Linked DNA regions of Homo sapiens: regions 1, 2, 3 and 4 are each linked to region 5. Evidence: promoter capture Hi-C in 16 types of primary human blood cells and fetal thymus (Javierre and others, 2016). All regions are on one chromosome and are shown on one strand. Each heading gives the region's core, a stretch centred on a gene start or on the middle of the fragment in contact. The rest is flanking DNA. Distances are from core to core; before and after follow the strand shown. Region 1 holds the start of CYB5R4 (cytochrome b5 reductase 4). Region 2 overlaps HMGN3-AS1 (HMGN3 antisense RNA 1). Region 3 has its middle 4.2 kb from the start of PHIP. Region 4 has its middle 3.6 kb from the start of LCA5. Region 5 holds the start of TENT5A (terminal nucleotidyltransferase 5A).

Evidence for each region. Contacts are between HindIII fragments. The CHiCAGO score rates a contact against its expected background, and 5 or more counts as called.
Region 1: a contact is called between the fragment with the promoter of CYB5R4 here and the fragment with the promoter of TENT5A in region 5, in 3 of 17 cell types (neutrophils, naive CD4 T cells and total CD4 T cells). The highest score is 6.4, in neutrophils.
Region 2: a fragment that was not itself captured here is called in contact with the fragment with the promoter of TENT5A in region 5 in 1 of 17 cell types (naive B cells); the score reaches 6.2 in naive B cells.
Region 3: a fragment that was not itself captured here is called in contact with the fragment with the promoter of TENT5A in region 5 in 1 of 17 cell types (total B cells); the score reaches 6.9 in total B cells.
Region 4: a contact is called between a fragment that was not itself captured here and the fragment with the promoter of TENT5A in region 5, in 2 of 17 cell types (fetal thymus and total B cells). The highest score is 5.4, in fetal thymus.

What each region holds. Positions count from the first base shown.
Region 1 is chr6:83,858,370-83,861,069 of GRCh38, reverse strand. CYB5R4 (cytochrome b5 reductase 4) reads right to left here and starts at 1,381. Exons shown (of 16, transcript NM_016230.4): 1 at 1,213-1,381. The coding sequence starts at 1,287. All of the region lies in intron 3 of RIPPLY2-CYB5R4 (RIPPLY2-CYB5R4 readthrough), which reads right to left. RefSeq lists a silencer at 1,261-1,310. The HindIII fragment of the contact is 3,476 bases long and covers 176-2,700 here.
Region 2 is chr6:79,236,385-79,239,084 of GRCh38, reverse strand. It overlaps HMGN3-AS1 (HMGN3 antisense RNA 1), which reads right to left. Exons shown (of 2, transcript NR_040671.1): 2 at 2,285-2,700. Among named protein-coding and RNA genes, the nearest start is that of HMGN3, 3.1 kb to the right of the region's middle. The HindIII fragment of the contact is 1,879 bases long and covers 405-2,283 here.
Region 3 is chr6:79,081,143-79,083,842 of GRCh38, reverse strand. No RefSeq gene overlaps it. Among named protein-coding and RNA genes, the nearest start is that of PHIP, 4.2 kb to the right of the region's middle. The HindIII fragment of the contact is 1,520 bases long and covers 653-2,172 here.
Region 4 is chr6:79,539,654-79,542,353 of GRCh38, reverse strand. It overlaps a transcript of SH3BGRL2 not described here. Among named protein-coding and RNA genes, the nearest start is that of LCA5, 3.6 kb to the right of the region's middle. The HindIII fragment of the contact is 5,167 bases long and covers 1-2,700 here.
Region 5 is chr6:81,751,332-81,754,031 of GRCh38, reverse strand. TENT5A (terminal nucleotidyltransferase 5A) reads left to right here and starts at 1,351. Exons shown (of 3, transcript NM_017633.3): 1 at 1,351-1,601; 2 at 1,854-2,442. The coding sequence starts at 1,891. RefSeq lists enhancers at 280-329, 1,190-1,690 and a silencer at 1,150-1,279. The HindIII fragment of the contact is 5,877 bases long and covers 1-2,700 here.

The sequences.
Region 1 (2,700 bases), core at 132-2,631, 2.1 Mb before region 5:
TTCAAGAAATAGGTCAAAAACCAATGAGAAAAATATACATGATTGGATGGCTAGATGATTGATATATGAATCAGTAAATGAAATTTCACAGCAGAACCACAACACAAGCCTACGCAATTTAGGGCAATATTTCTTAGCCAGTTTCCTTTTCTGCGAAATAGAGACAATAAAAGCTTTCACTTCAAAGGATAATTGTGAAAATTAAAGTTAATACATGCAAAGCACTGAGAATATACACGGCCACCCGTAAGTACTTAAGAAATCTCTGGAAAGCTAATGAAAACCACAGATCCCTGAACCTATATTCATTCTGAACTAGAATCAGAACGCCAGGTCTAAGTGGAGAAAAATAAGAAAATCGATAAGGGTTCCAAACGATGCTAAGACTCAAGAGTTAACCGAGTGGCCCAAGTTAAGTGGAAGTGTCACAAACGAAAGATAAAGATATGGTTACAGAATGAGGAACTAACAAATAGGAACAAACAACATTCGCAAAAGAACAAAGAACACAATTTTTATTGAATTCTGCAAATATAAAATATATCTGTACAGTATTCCACCTGTTGCTAACAGCAACTGTGCTCAACAAGAACTCAAGAGTATTATTATATTTGCTTCGAAGTTAGCAAGTGATACTAGTAGAAAAGGCAATGACAAAACAATCAGGTACCAGAGGAAGAAAGAAAGGCAGTATGTCTTGGATAGTGTCTGTAAACCTGACCTAGCTCCCCAACTCCAGAAGTCCCCATCCTTGCACGGACGGTCACTGTCGCCACTGCCAAGCCTTTCCCTCCTGCGAGGGAACCCACATCGAGTGATGTGGTACAACTCCTTCAGGCAGTGAAGAACAAAAGACCAGGGAGAAGATGAGGTTGAGGGAAGGCGGCTAATACCGAGAGCCTATAATACCGCAAACACAGTGCCTGGCTCTGTCATATAAATTTAAATCGCGGGAAAGGACTTGGAGGAAGGGAACGGATAGAGCGGGATAAAGGACCAGAAAGAAGAGGGACTGCTAGGGGAAAGGGAGGAGGTAAGGAGAGTTTAGGGACTGTAGACAAAGTGGGATCAGAAAGAGGTTGCAGGCAAGGACAGCAGGGAACGACAGCTTAGAGAGGGGTGCAGGAGCTGGGAGTTGGGGCGGAAGAAGAGAACACACTGCCAGAGCTCGAAACGCAGCGAGGGGAGAGACTCACGGAGCCACCCGCTTACCTTGCTACGCCCCCCGGAGGCGACACGCTGCTGCGACCTGGGGGCCGGGAAAGACTGGGAAGGGACGTTCAGCATCTTCAAACCCCGGCCCCGGGCCCTGCCCGGGGATCGCCGCCAGACGGGACAGCACCTCCAGCTCCGGCTCTGTGGCCGGGCAGAGGCCAAGCCCCCGACCCACTTCCGGGGTCGCCAGGGGTGAGGCGCATTCTGACGCAGCACGTCCGCGGAGGGCGGAGCCAACGGGACGGAGGGAGGGCCGGCAGGGAGGAAGTACGCATGCTCAGCTAGTTCCGCATCCCGAACTTCAGCACCGGAGCAAGGTGACAGCTATTTCGTGGAAAGATTAGAGAGTGAAGCTGTTCCTTAGCCTTGGTGCTGACCGAATGTGGGAACAAATTCTTAGTCCTGTTAACCCGGAACAGCAATGTCTGTTCATTGTTAAGCAGTACCATCACACTACTTGAAATATGGACTAAAACACACTACTTGAAATATGGACTAAAACGAATTTTAGTTTCTCTGAAATTCTTTCCTGTAAGGCACTAGGCTGTAATGCAAAGAGCATCTCACACCTTTAAGAGCAAAAATATCAAATGTCAACAGCCACTACTGTGGGGTAAGAAGAAAACCTCACCTTTAATCATCCTTAAACTTCACCTTTAAGCATGCTGAGGGCTAATGAATGCGCGAAAGACGTTAGTAAAGTCACCTTCTGCTCTATTCACCCACTCACAAATTCTCCCTCCTTATGTAACTTCCTGTCTTCACTGGGAATTGTGTACTGATGCAGCTCACCTCCAGCTGTGGTGATGAAGTAACGTTTAAAAGTCAGATTTGGTTTGCATGCCATCCCTGCACTTAATGACTGAGCTGTCTTATGCAAGTTACTTTAGTATCTCAAAGTCTCATTTTCCCCATCTGCATAATGGGTTTATTAAAGATTAAAGGATCATGTGTAAACTACATACTGCAGTGCCTGATTAATATTAGGTACTGAATAAGTGGCAGTGGCTGTTTGTGCTATTCCAACATATTAATGGGAAAAGGACCAACACTGTGCAGGTAAACACCAGGCTCTAATGCTCAAAATCTGATGGTTTTTGTTTGTTTGATTGATTGTTTTGTGTGTCCCTTGGGGAACACATAGATCTTGAGAGTAGAATCCAATAAGGGAGAAAGTTTTCAGGAGAAGAAACATAGTTCTAAATAATCCTCCCCATCCTCCTTTAATTACTAATTTTTCCTAACTCTGAACATATTGTCATGCTTTAAACTTTCTCTGTTTAACTACTTAGTTCTTAAAGTGCCTAAAAAATCAAGGTTATGTTTGCAGAATCAGAAGAAAAAGTGTGTGACTATATGTGGCCATTCAAATACAAGCATTCAAATAAGGTAGCCACCTATGACATTCACCTCTATCCATTTTTATTTGCAATTGAAATGCTTATTATGAGAAGACTGAATTTGAGCTAAAAGAACCTCATGACT
Region 2 (2,700 bases), core at 95-2,594, 2.5 Mb after region 5:
TGAGGATTTGGGATCAGGGATTTTCATCTCCCAGGGGCCCAAGGAGCTGCCTAGAGGGGCTGCCTGGGAAGAAGAAGACACTTTTCTAGGTATCTGGATGTGTGCAGTTTTTAATCACTCTTCAGGTTCCTTGCAACTACAGAAGAGAAAGAAAGTGAAATAAACAGGTTGTGCCCAGCAAAACTGAGATGGAGCAAAAGCATGAGGTGAGGACTGTGGGGCGAGTTTCACCCACAGAATTACGCTCCTGCTCTGGAAGTATGTTGAGAACTCCACAGGCTTTTATAGATACCTGTCATCAGAATCCAAGTACCGGCATTCAGCAAATATTTGTTGAGAGCAAGGGCCTAGTCTATTAAATACTCTAGTCCCCGAATTATAGTGTAAGCAACACATGAAAAGCTTGTTTGAAAATGCAGATTTCCAAGCCTAGCCATTCAATACCTTGGGACTGGGGCCTAGGGATCTGCACTAATATCAGGCAGCTCATTTGATTTGGGACCGTTAGTTCTTGGACTCTTATTGTTGCTTTGTAAAAACTAACCTTGGTCTCTTCAAAAGTTAGCACCCAATCAAAGTAGAGACTTGACTGGAAAATACAAACAAAATATTCTTTTGCCACCTCTTATTTGTTGTTTTTGATGTTGTTTTGTTACACACCTGAATTCTTCACTGTGTATTTTTTGACCTATTTATGGAAGATTAGTAACTTAATCTGGAATTACAAACTATCAGAAGCAACACAGTATCATTTTCACTTTTCCCCTTTCTTCCTTTCTCCCTCTGTCTGTCTCTCTCTCTCTCTCTCTCTGTGTGTGTGTGTGTGTGTGTGTGTGTCTGTCTGCCAATGTCTCTGTCTCTTTCTTTGCCTTAATGATAGTCATGACTATCATTTGTTTTGCCCTGCTGTCTGAAAAATGCAAAGTAGGTGTACAGTTGCAACTATCAAAAGCAACAATATGTACATTCTGGATCTGACTTCTCCAGTAATTTGTCATTACTTACAGCAAAAGCCTAAGGGACCCTGCCTGTGTCTGCCTGAAAGAGGAAAAGAGGGACAGTTCAAGAAGGAGGTGATCTGCAAGTCATTCTTTCCCTTGAAAACTTCCTCTCAAGCCTGGTGTGGTGGCTTGCACCTATATAACTACTCAGGAGGCTGAGGCAGGAGGATCTCTTCAGCCCAGCAGTCTGACGTGCAGTGAGCTATGATTGTGCCACTGCATGCCAGCCTGGGCAACAGAATGAGATCTTACCTCTAAAAAAAAAATTTTAATATTAAGCATTTTTTTTTCGGAATGTCAAAGATCCACAACATTCATTAGCAGTGGCATTCAATTTTTTTGACCAAGACCATACTAAAAATATATTTCATGTCACAATCCAACATACACACATACATATCTGTGTTGTGTATGTGTTTATATGAGCACATATGGAAAATAGAAACAATTATCTTATGAAACATTACTTACCTTTACCATATATACTCTGCTATTTTCTATGCTTGGCCCTTTCTTTGCTTTTCTTAGCCTTCCCTTCTCCCTTCTCCCTCTCTCTCTCTCTCTCTCTGTGTGTGTGTTTGCGTGTGTGTGTCTGTCAATGTCTCTGTCTCTTTCTTTTCCTTAATGATAGTCATGACACTATAAATGGTTTTGCCCTGCTGATTGAAAAATGTGAAGTAGGTGTACAGTTCCAACAGTTTTGAGTAGGACAAAAGAGGAGAGGAGCTGGAATTGGAAAACAAGTTTGTTCACTATTTTTTTTCTTTCTGTCTCAGTCAGTAACTCTGTTAATTTATCCAGGTCTACCTTAGCTAAGATAGTATATACATCCTACTTTTACTGTCTTAGAGGCTGATATTCCAAAGTAGTAGAAATGCTCAGTGGAATATATTGATAAACAAATGAGTCTGTACTTCTTACCAGCTTGACCTCCTCACTGTCTTCTATGTGACACCCTCATTTCTGCCCAGATGTCTTTATCTCTTAACCTAGAATTCTAGCTACCTGCTAAATCATTCTCTTTGCCTACTCTTCTTACCTCCAGGGCCACCAGTAGAGGTTTGCACTGACTTTCCCAGATCTTGAAGGCTACTAAAGGTACAAGGGAGAACACTTCATTTCCTAGAGTAGTGCTCAGCCAGGTGCAATCTACATCAAAGGAAAGATAAGCAATGCTGTTGTTTTTCAACCGAAGCTGTTATTTTCATAACTTGTAAATGAACTAAAGATTCCAAGAACTCGAGGTCCTCACAATCAGCTTTCTTCATCCAACAAGCAAGCTTCAATTTCATCGTAGCATTTTTATTGTGTGCAGTAAAAACATTCACAATTTTGTTTGCTGTTGATGATCTGAGTGTTTGGTTTTGAAAAAAAATTAACAAAGAAGCCAATTTTGTGAGTTATTTTTCATCACAGAGGAGAAATATTCACCTTAGCACTACCTTTGTTGTGGCACCTTTCCATCTCCATGAAGAAAAATAGCCATCCAGTCCAGATTGCAAGTGCTACTCAGTATCCTTCTCACACATATCTTACTAAAAATGTTTTCACTGACTTTTTCTTTATTTAACTATCAAGTATTTGGCAAATTAATATCTTGAAAGACATCTTCATTATAAATATTATTTTAATGATAAAATTATTAACTTGTAAATTTTTATCTAGCTCTAAGCAATTGGTTTTTATCTTAATTCGTTTC
Region 3 (2,700 bases), core at 163-2,662, 2.7 Mb after region 5:
ATTTTAATGTGTGACAGTCCCAATTATAAGAGGAAAGAATAGATTCATATTTATATTTTTAGAGTTCTTAGAATATATCCAAACTGAAAATATAACATGGGAATTGTTTCTCCAAATAATTACATATCTTATTTTCCGTATTTTACCTTTGGAAACTAACATTTCACTGATGGAAAAGAAGGAAACTTTTACAGAGACACAGAAAAAACTGAAAATGCCGGAATATCAGGGAAAGATGGAATTCTTACACAAGTACTTGCCAAAAAACCCAAAACACTGAATGACAAAAACAAGTGTAAAGTGTAACATGTACAAACTATAATAAGACAAAAAGACAATATACTTCTTCCTTCTCACATGATGCTACTTACCCAACATTTTTAAGAAAGATTTTCTCTAATGATGTCTTAGAGGCATTACTTCTGATACCTGTTAAGGGGAAATACCACATATATTCTTACCACAATATTCCATCTAAAGGCTATCATAGTTTGTCTATAAATCATTATCAGTTGGTAAATTTTGATGAGCATTTAAAAATCCACTCCAGCCATTTCGTCTGCACCTGTATTTTTAGGCACTCAAGTGTAAACATGAAAACTGTTAGTGTAACAAGATTTGTAGGTGTAATCTTAAAATCAAATTATAAGCTTTTCTTAAATTTTAGCACACACATCTTGGTTGAAAGATCTACCTGGTATCAATATTGTTTTAAATTTTTAACTATGATATAACTAATTTTTTTGTAATAGCTAGTCATTGTTTCAATAAACATGTATGAGAATATCTGTGAAAGAGAATAAAGCAACAGAGGCATAAGTCAGGGGGACCTTCGCAAGTACACACACATCCCCATATATGAAGAAAAACAAAAATAATATACAAATTAGATTGTATAATTAGGTCTCTTATAGGAATTCAGAAAATAGAGTATTTTTGGTTACAGTTAAATCTAAGTTGCTTTATTCTTAATTTTGAATTAGAACTTATATATGAGTCTCAAGTCAGACTTGTGAGTGCTCTGAATGTTCAGTCCTTATTCTTTCAAACACCTGTTCTTCTTTGTCATCAGTAGTGTCTACTTTGGTGTCCTTGATATCCATTATTTTTACTCTGTATAGATTCCTCACTATTTGTCAGATAAAACTTTCCCTTCCTTTTCTATAACTAAAATGCTTTTTCTTTGGGGTTCCTGAAGTTTATGGCTTTAGGCACATATAAAGGCAAGTGACTATGTAACTGTTTTTCTCAAATGCCATCTTAACATCGCATAGATAATAGTGTACTACCAGAGCCTCTGCACCCATTTTCTCCTCCCCTCCCCCACTTTACCTTCTCTTCTTTCACTGTTCTCTGTTCAACTCAGCCCACTCCCAGTCCATCAGACATCTTCCTATGATAGAACATGCCTACAGACTTCTCCTTTATGTTTCCTGCCATCTGGAACAGCTTTTTCTGCTTCATCCACTGTGTTGCTCCAAATCTTAGGGGAATATGTTCTAAAATTGTTTTTCTCCTTTAATCTTTGTAATTGTACTGTTAAAACTCATGAAGTGATCATTTAAAACAAACTATATAAATAAACCCATGAAGATGTGTATTTCTTGTGCAAATTAAGACTTATAAAAATACAAACTACTAGAATTATTTAACTTGGATAAAAAAGATTGAGTGAATTACTAACATTTAAATACATAAGGGATAACATGATTGTTGAGGACTAGCTATATTTGTTACACATTAAAAGGAAACGTGCTCTAATTTAAGTAAAAAGATTCCTCAGTGAGATATAAGGGAGAACTGTTAATGTTAAATAACAAAAACATTGTTAAATAATGGAATGGCTCACTTAAGTTGGTTATCTCTATTCTTTTTGGAGCAGCCAAATAGTATATCTGTTCATGTGCTTCAAATCTGATAAATATTCATGCTCTATGAAGAAGGATATGTGTGTGTGTGTGTGTGTGTGTGTAAGAGAGAGAGAAAGTCAGATAAGCATGGACAGAAACACACAATATTGGGGAGCAAGCCACAGTGAGGAGTGTGGCTTGTTAAATAAGATCCTTGACAGTTGTATTGTGTTCTTGGGGCAGATGAGTAGTTTTTTTTAAAGTACTTTTGAGAGAACAGTGTTTTCTACTTTTACATTTCTGTATTTCACAGGATAAAGCTTCTGCTATAGAAGAAATGTAACATCAAAACAAAAGCAAGATTTAACATGAAATTTTAAAAGTTGTACTTATAGAGATTTTTTGAGTTACGTATTATTCACCATACTACTGGAGATTAAATTTCATAAATGTATAATTTTTGTACTTATAAATACCATCCCATCTTGTTCCTGAAACAACTGAAATGATAGTATTTGATTATTTTATTGGAATAATAGCTTACAAGATCAAGACAAAATTTTTGTTAAATATTTATTTTGTTTCATGTGTTGCCACGTGAAAAGTGATGAATTTCACATAAACTTTTATATTTCAAGAAAAGTTTCTATATCTCCTAGAGAGACTATATTATGTAAAAACGTTAGGTCTTGGCTTTCCAAACTTTTACTATTATTTGTTAACCTTGTTATTTAAACTGCATGGAGATCTTTTTAAAGTGATATTTTATTTTTGGAAACCCATAAAAATGTTAAAATAAACAAACAGGAAAGGATATAGATGGAATCTGAACTATCCTTATATGCAAAAG
Region 4 (2,700 bases), core at 133-2,632, 2.2 Mb after region 5:
TTGCATTGCAGTGAGCTGAGATCGCACCATTGCACTCCAGCCTGGGCAACAAGAGTGAAACCCTGTCTCGGAAAAAAAAAAAAAGTAGGATATAGAAAAGGCAGGCTAGGATCTGAGAAACAAAAGGCATATAACTGGCACAATTCCAGTTCAACTCTGGCACTGGTGTAAGTGGTGGTACTCAGTGACTTCATGATGGCCACCAGCAGAAGTTGCTGGGTCCTGGAGAGAAGAGGGATAGACTGTTGCCTGGCAGAGCAGTGGTCCTGGTATCTTGCCTAGTGGGATGACCAGTAGAGGCAGGTATGTTTGTAAGTATGAGACACTCTCTAGGAAGTCCCAGAAATTATTGGTGGGGAAGTCTTTGGAGGGGAGGGGTGCTATAAAGCAGAGGCAGTCAAAAAATAACAAAATTTGGTTAATCTCATCTGTATTTACAGACTGGGGAACTTGTAATTACAAGAGTTTTTCTTAAATAAAATGTGAAAACAAGCCCACCAGACTGATCTATGAACCTATTTGAATAAAATTATTATCATCACTTTTGGGGACATCTATTAGCTTTGTCCAGTATTTCTTCTTCTAGTAACAGCATTCCAGTTTTCCTGTGGAGAATCACCTCACTATTCTGAGCAAACATGAAAGATAAGGTGACTTTATCATATTCTTTCCCGAAGCAAACTCTTGGCCACAGTACTTACTAATAGTTCATATTCAAGTGTGGGCAGTCAGAGTTAATACCAAGATTTCTGCTGGACCAATCAGGAAAGAGATATTCTTTTTCCACTGGGGTTGTGAGGTAAATAGAATGTAAATCTGGAGCACTGGTGGCCATACCTGGAAGGGAAAGCCTGCCTTAAATAAGACCAACACGTAGAAAAGTACATCCAAGAGACAAAGAGAAGAAAAAATTTTAATAACATTGAGCACTTGGATCCAACCATACGTGGAGCTAGGTCTACTAGATTTTTCTGTTATACAAACCAATGCATTCTTTTTTTTTAAGCCATTCAGAAATTGAGGTAAAATTTACATACAGTGAAAAGCACACATATTTTATATATTTTAATGAATTTTGATAAAGGAAACTTCTTTTTTTTTGAGACTGAGTCTCACTCTGCCGCCCAGGCTGGAGTGCAGTGGTGTGATCTCAGCTCACTGCAACCTTTGCCTCCCAGGTTCAAGCAATTCTCCTGCCTCAGCCTCACGTGAAGCTGGGACTGCAGGCACACACCACCACGTCTGGCTAATTTTGTATTTTTAGTAGAAATGGGGGTCTCACCATGTTGGCCAGACTGGTCTCAAACTCCTCACCTCAAGTGATCTGCCCACTTCGGCCTACCAAAGTGCTGGGATTACAGGCATGAGCCACCATGCCCGGCTGGAAACTCTCTTTAACTACCACGTCAGTCAAAACAGCATATTCACATCACTCCAAAAATAACTTTCAGTCCCTTCCACTTGATCCTACCTCCATCCCCACAGTCAATAACTGTTCTAATTTTTTCCAGTTTAGATGAATTTTGCCTGTTTTTGAATCACTTATTAATGGAAGTATACAGAATATATTCTTTTGTGTCTGACTTCTTTTGCTCAATATTGTCTTTAAAATTAATCCGTGTTAATCAGTAGTTCATTCTATCGATGACCAGCATTATGTTGTAAGTATATACACATTTTTACAAACATCTCAAGTTTTCTTTCTCCATTAACAAAAAAAAACTCGTACATTTCATCAAGTGATCAGAAACTGTATCCTTTAAACAGAGCAATAATCAAAGGCTACTAGCTTTTTGTACTGCAAAATCAAGTATTCATAGCAATCAGATTAGACTACATTTGTTTTCATCAGAGCAGCCCACTTTCTAGGTATGAAATTATACTATTTATTTATTTTATTTATTTATTTATTTATTTTTGAGACGGAATCTTGCTCTGTTGCCCAGGCTGGAGTGCAGTGGCGCGATCTCGGCTCACTGCAACCTCCGCCTCCCGGGTTCATGCCATTCTCCTGCCTCAGCCTCCCGAGTAGCTGGGACTACAGGCACCCGCCACCACGCCCAGCTCATTTTTTTGTATTTTTATTAGAGACAGGGTTTTACTGTGTTAGCCAGGATGGTCTTGATCTCCTGACCTCGTGATCCACCCACCTTGGCCTCCCAAAGTGCTGGGATTACAGGCATGAGCCACAGCACCCGGCCAATTATACTGTTCTTTACACCCAACTCAACCAATCCATTCGATTTCTCTTAAACATGCAGCATATTAGATACTGTTTCAAATTTAGTGTTATATGCTAAAACCAACTATTTACCTAGAATCTATTAATAAATTTAAAATTTCCAAGCAACATGAGATCAAGAAGTTAGAGAAAAAATTTTTGAATTTTTGTTATGTATCACATTTCTGTAAATTATATAAAATTGTGACACTGCTTTTCTTCTTTTGTAGAATGGTATGAAATAGATGACTGAACTTTAGCTAAGGATAATTATACTTATGTGCTTTCCAAGATACTATATATAGTATGTCCCCCCACTTTACAAATTATGGTCATTGTAATTTCTCTGTCTACAGTTAGAGAGTCTATTTATCTACCTATTACTTTTTTGAAACTTCTAACCAACCATTCAAACTCGACACTAGTTTCCCCAAAGGAAAATGAGAATAATCCTACTAGTAAGCATTTGTAGGAATATT
Region 5 (2,700 bases), core at 102-2,601:
GGGTGACACCCCCGCACCCTACCCCTCACCCCCGAGCCGCGCAGCTTGAGTGACTAGGCCGGGGCTCCCCCAGTTAGGAGGTGCGGGCTGTTTTTCCTCCCAGTCTGGGCGGGCAGGGCTGAGCAGGGTTTGGGGAGTATTCTGTGACCCTGGCATTCTCCCCTCTGCCCCACCTCAGCCCCCGGCAGCGTCTAGGCGCTGGGAAAGCTGCTCCGGGTTAGTTGATGGAGGCAGCGAGCTGCCGAAGAGACGGCCACAGCTTTCTAGCAAAGAGTGGTGGTGGCGCGAGTGAGCGTGCGTAGAATTAGCTCTGCCGAAGTCACCGAAGCTGGAGGAGAGAATTCATTTTATTCTTGAAACTCCTACTTTTACGTCTCGTGGAAAACCAAATCGTATTCCACTGACACTATGATGCACTTAAAATGGCCAAACTTTAGGGGGCCGCGAGGAACGCGCTTCGCCGCCTCCAATTTTGTCAGAGAACTCGCAGCAAAGGCACCGGACACCTAGCGGCCCTTTCCCTGGACTCCGGGGCAGCACGCACTCCCCGGGCGCGCTCTCTGCGCCCACTCGGCCCGCCCAGTCCTCGGCCATTGGCTGCTCGCCCGCGTCTGCTCCGTGACGCGCCCTGACCCCCGCGAAGTACTGGCCCCTTGGAGCCACTCGTGCGCAGGAGCCGCGCACGCCCGAGGCCCGTGGTGCCGCCCCCGCGCCTTCTCGGGCTCGCCCAGAGCTCCCCGGCGCGCTTCCCGAGGTTTCGAGAATCGAAACCCAGTTATCAACAAGCCCTTCCCACTCACGCGCCGTGACTGATTTGCGTGCAAGAGTGGACTCATGAGTCCACACTTGGATCGGGTTTATCAATGGAGTAAATGGTCTACCTAAAAACCGAGGTTTAAAAGAGCGGTCGTGAGGAACCTCCGGAGCCCAACCGTGATGATCTAAAGACGGGCTGAGTCCGCGAGAATTTTGGGAAGTTTCTGCAGTTGCAGGATTTTAGTCGTGATCTGGTTTTGATGACCACTTATGATTCCTGGGGCATTTAAAGTGTCTCCTCCTGGGGAAAATGAAAAGAGATTTGTGGGAGGGGGCGTACATAAATTAAATGTATGTATAAATACACGCATCTACGGGCGCACACAGTATCCGCACATACAGCCCAGGACCTCACGCTCACCGGCAGTCGTCCCGCACTAACTGCTGGGCTAGTCAGCTGCGTGCCCTGCGGGCGGGGGAGGGCAGAGGGGGCGGCGCCCTATGCAGATGAGGAGGGTGTGGCGAACGTGCCGCTCTGGGCCCCGGAAGCGCAGAGAAGCCCGGTATAAAAAAAGTACTGAAGACATTTTCCCCGCACAACTGCTAAAGCTCCAGAGACACGAGCGTGTGTGGCAGCAAGAGCCGCCAGTTCGGGACCACCGCAGCTGGGGTGGCAGCGGCGCAGGAGGGGTCGCGGGGAGGGAGTGGTGAGCGCAGGCGGCAGGGGTCTGGGAAAGACGAAGTCGCTATTTGCTGTCTGAGCGCGCTCGCAGCTCCTGGAAGTGTTGCCGCCTCTCGGTTTCGCTCTCGCTCGCTGCGCTCCTAGAAGGGGCGGCCGCCTCCAGGTGACACAGACGGGACTCTCGCTTGCGCTTTCCAGATGCATCAGAGATACTTTTGGTGCGGGGCTGCTCTGCGGGGCGCGGTGCGCGGCTGGGGACTGTAAGGGCCGGGGGAGGGAGTCTCCGAGGAGGCCCGGGGTCAGGGAACTATCGGGGGAGGGGGCGCTCTTTTCCTGGCGGGCCTCTGCTCTCCGCCGCCGCGCGTGCTCTCCGCCGCCGCGCGTCCTCACCGCGCTCCTTTCCCTTTCTTTTTAGGACTGACCAGGGCCAAGTGGCGCTCGGCGGGCACTACATGGCGGAGGGTGAAGGGTACTTCGCCATGTCTGAGGACGAGCTGGCCTGCAGCCCCTACATCCCCCTAGGCGGCGACTTCGGCGGCGGCGACTTCGGCGGCGGCGACTTCGGCGGCGGCGACTTCGGCGGTGGCGGCAGCTTCGGTGGGCATTGCTTGGACTATTGCGAAAGCCCTACGGCGCACTGCAATGTGCTGAACTGGGAGCAAGTGCAGCGGCTGGACGGCATCCTGAGCGAGACCATTCCGATTCACGGGCGCGGCAACTTCCCCACGCTCGAGCTGCAGCCGAGCCTGATCGTGAAGGTGGTGCGGCGGCGCCTGGCCGAGAAGCGCATTGGCGTCCGCGACGTGCGCCTCAACGGCTCGGCAGCCAGCCATGTCCTGCACCAGGACAGCGGCCTGGGCTACAAGGACCTGGACCTCATCTTCTGCGCCGACCTGCGCGGGGAAGGGGAGTTTCAGACTGTGAAGGACGTCGTGCTGGACTGCCTGTTGGACTTCTTACCCGAGGGGGTGAACAAAGAGAAGATCACACCACTCACGCTCAAGGTAACACCACCCGAGATGCACTTGGGTCCTGACCCAGTCTGGGCCGGGTGTGACGGGGAGCGGGCAGAGGGGCATCGGTTAAATGCCATGAATCTGTGGCCATCACGAGTTTGGGCGCGCGTTATTTCTTTGATTTTTGATTTTTTAAACCAGTAAACTGACGTGCGTGGACGGTGTTGAGTGTTTCAGTTTACTTGATGCTTTGGCGCTACAACTCTTCTCCCAGGTCCTCCTCTGCCCTCTCTTCTCTTCTTTCTC